2 separate regions of the Homo sapiens genome follow, and region 2 is linked to region 1. The links are contacts of gene promoters, found by promoter capture Hi-C in blood cells and fetal thymus (Javierre and others, 2016). All regions are on one chromosome and are shown on one strand. Each heading gives the region's core, a stretch centred on a gene start or on the middle of the fragment in contact. The rest is flanking DNA. Distances are from core to core; before and after follow the strand shown.

The links. The method cuts DNA at HindIII sites, captures the fragments that hold promoters and counts their contacts. A CHiCAGO score of 5 or more calls a contact.
Region 2: a fragment that was not itself captured here is called in contact with the fragment with the promoter of FHDC1 in region 1 in 1 of 17 cell types (erythroblasts); the score reaches 7.9 in erythroblasts.

What each region holds. Positions count from the first base shown.
Region 1 is chr4:152,934,432-152,937,775 of GRCh38, reverse strand. FHDC1 (FH2 domain containing 1) reads right to left here and starts at 1,453. Exons shown (of 12, transcript NM_001371116.1): 1 at 1,367-1,453. LOC729870 (a long non-coding RNA gene) reads left to right here and starts at 939. Exons shown (of 2, transcript NR_136614.1): 1 at 939-1,127; 2 at 2,326-3,260. RefSeq lists silencers at 1-75, 1,408-1,497. The HindIII fragment of the contact is 3,900 bases long and covers 1-3,204 here.
Region 2 is chr4:152,847,496-152,850,832 of GRCh38, reverse strand. The region is part of intron 2 of ARFIP1 (ARF interacting protein 1); the gene reads right to left. Among named protein-coding and RNA genes, the nearest start is that of ARFIP1, 69 kb to the right of the region's middle. RefSeq lists enhancers at 1-235, 122-416, 3,128-3,337. The HindIII fragment of the contact is 1,321 bases long and covers 1,315-2,635 here.

The DNA.
Region 1 (3,344 bases), core at 204-2,703:
CAGCTGCGTCCTTATCAGCGCCGGGCAGAAGGGCGTCGCGGCGCGAGGGTGGGGCGCCGGTGCGCGCTGAGATCGACGCCCACACGCGCCGCGCCAGCTCTGCGGCGGGGAGAGAAGCCGCGGCCTGCGGGGCGGGGACTGCGGGGCGGGCGCCCAGCGCGGGCGTTGCACGACCCTCGGCCTTCCGCAGCGCCGACCGCTCTCCCGTCCGGCGGCTGCAGCTGCTGGGTCGGCCGCCGCACCCGCTCGCCCATTCCCGGCCCCTCCAGTTGGAGGGGGTCTCGGCCCCGCCCCCCTCCCCGAGGGGCCCACGCTGGAAAGCCCACGCTCCCCACGCCACGCCCCCCAGGGCGCCAGCCCCTCTGCGGGGGTTTAGCACGCTGCGCCCAGAAGTTGGGTGGGAGACGGCTAACTAGGGGAGGTGTCCGTGTGAATGAAACGAAAGGGGGGGTCTTCCGGCTCGCAGACACCGGGTCTGCGGCGGCCGCGCGCTCCCAACCCACCCGGAGCCTCCGCCGCGACATCTTCCCACGTCCCCCATCCAGGTCGCAGGCGCGGGGGAAAAGCCTCACGGCCGCACTGCGGCTCTGCCAAAAGGGAGCCGGGTCGAGCCGCTGAGAAAAACAGAGGGGAGACTCCTGGCGTTTGAAACCGGTCAGAACCCGCTCTCCAAGAGCTGGGGACACCCCTTGTTTGGAGGCTGATCCCCAGCCCACCCGCTTCCTCCCCCTCCCCACACTCCTGCAGGCGCGGGGCGCAACTTGCAATCCGAACTTCGCGCGGCCGGAGCAAGTTTGTCGGGGCGAGAAGCGCCTGGTCCTCGGTCCGCACCACCGCACTAGGTCCCCGCCACCGCCCCACCACTGTGTCAGGGGCCAGGCGTGGCCCCCGGCTGGCTAGGGAACCGAGCGCGGCGCCGCGGCTGCGCATTCCGTGCGGGACGCCGCTGTCTCCCAAGGGTCGGGATAAACTAGGGGGCGGTTGATCTGAAAGTCTTAGCCACGACTAATAGTCAACCGCCCAGGTGCGACCCGCAGCAGCCTTGGCGATGCAGCTCGTTCTCCAGACGCGGGTCCACACCGGCGCGTCCTCGCCTCCAGGGACCGATCGCTGTTCTCCGTGGCCGGGTAAGGGCGGCCGCCAAAGTCACCGGGGTGGATGTGGAGGGAACTGGAACCTCCTCTCCAGCTTTCCCGGTGAGGCTCGGAGGAAGCCGAGACCCGGCACCCATCAGCCGCGCTTCTCGGCGCCTCAGCCTCGGGTCCCGGACAACACCCCAACCCTGACCCTCCCGAGCGGCGGGGCTCCAGCTCCCCGTGTCCCGCGCCGCGGTCGCCCCCGCCTCGGCCGCCCGACCCGCACTCACCCGCGGCCAGCGCGCCCCCGCTCCCGGCGCGCAGACCGCTGCAGCCTCCCGCCGTTGTGTCGGCGTAGCCGCCTCCTCCCGGTCACTGCAGGCCCAGCCAACCCTGAGCGCGAGGGGGCAGGGCGGGGCGGGGCGCAGCGGCAGCCTCAGGTAACAAAGCTGCGGCCTCGCTGCTCCTGGCCGGCCGGGAAGGGCAGCGCGCCCTTTCCTGCTCCGCCCCTCCCTCGCCTCCCCTTCCACCCTACGCGCGCCACCGTCACCGCCACGCGCTCACCTTCACCTGCGCGGGGCCCCGGGGGAGACGCCTCGGGGCACACTGCTTCCCGCACCCGAAGGCTGGTGCGGGGCTAGGCCGGGGGCCACCGAGAGAAGTAGGGGCGGCAGGAGACGGAGATAGCTGGGCTGCCCAGAAGAGCCAGGTGTCCTCGGGGAACGGGCGAGAGGAGGCGCCAAGCTGGCTTCTGAACCTGCAAGTGCCTTTCACAAAGGAGCCTTTGCGACAGCCTCCCAGGCACCCTCTCTTGTGCACACGGGCGCGCACACACTCTTATATACACGCGCGCACACACACACACACACCCGCACACGCCCCCCGACGCACGCGCCAGACCACCCTCTGCCCCAACACTTGCTTCTCCCTGGAGAGCTAGCAGCACTTGGGCGAACTGACCTGTCCCAACCCCTACAGCTGAAACCTGGCTGCGCTAGAGCTTCGCAAAGGTCAGCTCCTCCCTGGGGCCTGCCAAGCTGTAAATTTGTTACCGTTTTTTATTTTGTTTTTGTTTTTAATTCTCAATGATGATGGTAACAGAAACCTTTAGGTTGTATTAAAGCGTAAAAAGACCCCTCAAAAATTTTGCCAGGCCTCATCGAATGAACGCACGCTGTCTGGGAAAGGCACACTCCTCACAGAAAGAAACAGGGGAATCGATTTAATCACATTTTTTTTTTCTTCAAAGTGACTTGGGGCGCCAGTGAGAAGCAAGTAGTCAAAGAAAACATCCCGGGCAAACCGGCTGACCGAAAATCCACTGTCGGGGTAGGGAGGCGCCCTCTACGGGGATGAAGTCATCGCTACCTTTGACTCTTTGATCCTAGATAACCGACCAAGACGTTTCCAGCCTAATGCCTGACGCCTTTTGCTTCCTCCATCCTGGTCCTCAGTCCCTGAACTCCCAGGACAGAATTCCTGACCTCCTTGGTCAAGCCTTGGATCGAGAAAGAGAAACTATTAGTGTAAACAAACCAATCAACCCCAAAACCAAAACTGTGCCTGCCAATAGCCCATTTCTTGGCCATTGATGGTGCATGAAGAGAAATGGATCCAATTAAGAAAATCTTAAAATCTTAAGGAATAAGAAAATGTAATAAAGAGAAAGACAATGTCATGCTCAGGGAGCTAATATGAATCCCAAAGGAATATTGACTGTTCAGGCTCAAGTTAAATTACAGCAGATCGAAAGTGAGGAGTTGAGTGGCATCTTCTTTTCTCTTACTGTCGACCTTGTTAAATGGGGAGTCCACACCCCTTGCCTACTCCTCCCTCCTCAACCCCGTGACAGTGGGCCTCCCCCCAACTGTATTGAGCATGCACTCTAAAACAGTTACTTTTTGAGAAGTCAAGTCTGGTGACCCATTCTCAGCCCCTCATCCCTTTGATCTCCTTGGCAGCATCCTACCCTAAGGCCTTCTCTATGCTTCTCTGGACTTCTCTGCTGACCCTTCTCTTCCTTTGAGGACAGTAACAAGGTTTTTCCAACTCTCGATCTCCCAGTATCCCAAAGAAATACCTTCTGATTTCAAACTGAACCCATCCAGATGTCGTGGGACCTGAAGCTTGTATAACTCCTGGGGGAACTTCTTAAAGGAAAGCAATAAAAACTTACAAACATAATACTAGACATGTATCCTTGGAAGGGCCCAGGGAAAATGAGGGGCTTGGAAATTTGAGCTTCAAGGTATATCTCCGGGTTTCTCT
Region 2 (3,337 bases), core at 726-3,225, 87 kb after region 1:
CTGATTATCTTCCAACATTCTACTTATCAATATTCTATTGTTAGAAGGCAGGGTCAGCATTTTCTAAACTCTCTATTGGTACTTCTAAACAACCAGTTCTCAAACCTTAATTTCAGTAGGAATCACCTGAGGATCCTGTTAAAAATGCAGATTGCTCTTAGCTGTGTGGTGATTCTCACTGAGTTGGAATGTGAAGCCCAGAAATCCGAATTTCAAAACAAGGAAATCAGGTGATTCTGATGCAGGCGATCCTTAGTCTATTTTGAGGAACTGTTGTAGAGAACTGCTTTCCATTCTTGTGCAACTCTGCCCCTACCCAACCCCCCCGTTTCCTGTGTGTCACCTTCCTCACTGCCCTCGTCCCCACCTCAACATTGTCATCTACCTTCTTTCCAGTCAATTTCAAATATTTATTGAAGACTTTGGCACATCTAGGGCTTCTGCTTTATCCCTAACTCTCACCATTAAACTGGGTGTTTCTAACCTTTTGCATGTTGGTGGGCACATTTTCAGGAAATGATTATAGATGTTCAGTTAGCAATTCCTTCCAAGCTGATATATTCGCTGTCTAGGCTGAAAGTTTTCACCGATCATTAAAAATACAGTCCACTAATGTTATGGTAGGTAGTAAGTTGCTATATTTTAAAATATAAATTGTAAAACACTTAAAATCTGTTCCATGAGCCTGCCTACCTATGCTGATGCAGAATGACAGGGGATAGTAATAATGATATGTAAAGGTATGTGATTTTATTTTCCCTCCGTATACTTGCAGAAATGCGTAAAATTGGTAATCTGGATCAGGTTTGGGAATCTGTAGTTGGACAACATGCCAAAAAAGTGTCAGGGCAGATAAAAGACATTTTAGACTTAGTATAACCCAATCTACACCTTAGTCTCAGATTTCATTAACATCTTCATTTCTAATGCCTTTCATCTTTCATACCCCATATTCCACTCAGGCAACCTAAACTCAAATTGCCACTCTTAGACCTTGTCATCACTTCGGAAGCAACACTTCTAGATTCTCACTTTAAATAAGTTTAATAACTCACTTTATGATCACAATATCCTCCTGTATCTTATTCCATCTAATCAAGAGAGTAAATCTAACATTTTTATTGATTTTTTTCCATTTACCACCATACACACACACACCTGCCTGCCACAGACACACAATTTCAATCTTCTTTTCTCCCTCTCTCCCATTCATTCAACAATATTTAACAAGAACTTACAAGTACCTTTTGGTGGTTCACTGCCTACCCTCTTGGCCTCACCCACTTAGTCTAGATTCTAAGTAGTTCAAAAGCTTGAATCATGTACCAACTTGCATCAAAGAAATACTGAATTCATTCACATACTATCACTGTGGAAATATTTATATGTATCTACATTCAAAATAATTCCTTCAAAAAATTTAAAAACGACATATTCCTAATAGCTTTTGTTTATAAATAACGACACACTCTCAGATTATAATTTAAGACAGATAAGCCTTCAACCTTTCATTATGAATTGTATTTTCAACAAAATTCCTCCAAGAAATAAAAAAAAACATATTACTAATAGCTTTTGTTTATAAATAAGGGCACACTCTCAGATTATAATTAAGACAGATAAGCCTTCAACCTTTCATTATGAATTGTATTTTCAACAGGACTCTCAATCCAGAATTAATTTAATGTATGTGTATATTAAAAATATACTTAAAATTTTAATTTGTAGTAATAGTATTAAAAGTATAGCCTATAGCTGAAAAGCAAACAGTATTAAAATGAATCTAGATTTGTATGGGTTAAACAATCCTTGAAAACCATTTGCCATACCTCTAAAAGGGATCAACATACATATTTGGTCAAAACTGGCTCTCTGAAAAAGCCCCCATCAAATCATTATTGCCATTGACCGAGCTACTACATTTTTTATGTGTGAGTAACGTGGAAACATTATATTGCATTCCTATATAGAATGGAGACAAACTGTAATCACATGCTATGAAAACCCTAGGGTAGGATGGCTGAAGGAGAAAAGATGTCAACTTTTAAGTCTATTTACTAGAATTCATTCTTTTATTGAGCAACTACTATGAACCAAAACTTGTGCTGTGTATACACACTATCTCTGACCTAACAGTGATTCCAATCTCTTGGGAAAAGGAGATAAATAAGTTACAACATGTGACTGGTGGGGGTAGGAGTTGGAGGAACAGTGTTCCAACAATTTCTTGTATTTCTTTCCCAAATCTTCTGCAGATCGTAGTGTATGATATTGCAGACTGCTAAGTACAAGGGAATGAAGAAACGACTTAGCTCAACAAAATCATTAAAAATAAAACTATAACAACAAAGACTCACACTCACAAACCCAAATACCACATGCAGGGAAATTAAGGACACAAGATGTATCAAATATAAGATTACAATATCTCTTCCCTGGTTTTTCAGAGAAGTCTAAAAATCTGGTTTCTAGTCCTCGTCCTCGTTCTTACGTGAATAAACATTCATTTATTCACCATTTATTGAAAGGCCCTCTTTGGTAGTAAGTGCCAAAAACTGTTACCAAACCCTGGAAATAAGGTAATGAAAGAGAGCGCTCTTGCACTCACTGCAGTTATAGTCAAATCACATAAGCTTTTGGTACAGCTATTTAATTAATACTGGGTAATTCCATAACAACTTCAAGGGCCTTTTTTCTCCACTATAAAATAACATAGTGAGACTCCGAGATCTCTAAGGTAGTTCTACTGAACGAATACTCTGTGATATCACTTAAAACTTACAGGTGGGGGGTTCTTAAGACTCAGGGAACCTGAGAACCCTTATGCAGGGTTCAGGGGGTCCTAAGCTCACTAAATCTGAATGCAAAATTTGGTAGGTTTGTGTATGGACATTTTGCTAGAGAAAGTGTTCATAGGTAAAAACACCCTACATTAGTGGATTTTTGTTTTGGGCCTTCCACGGGAAAAATTCCATTTTAGCTAGGTCTAAGGAGGCAATGTCTTTAAATCTACCAACTATAAATTAATTCACAAGAAGTTTCAACCATGTGGAGTTAGTATGATTTGCTTCTGCTCTTAAACTCATGGTATGAGTTGCAAATTTCTAATTAATTTTGACCAGCACTATAACAGCATCCATTACAAATACTACACACAGTTTACAAATCAGAGTAATTTGAATTATTTAGATTAAATTGTAATACTCTTTTTTAAAAGAATAATTTTTAAAAGAATAATTTTAAAGAATAATTCTTAAAATAATAATTTTATTTTTATTTTCTAAATAAAATGCATTTATTTAGAAGCAGAAATATTTTTGCTGTAAAAAACTGAGAT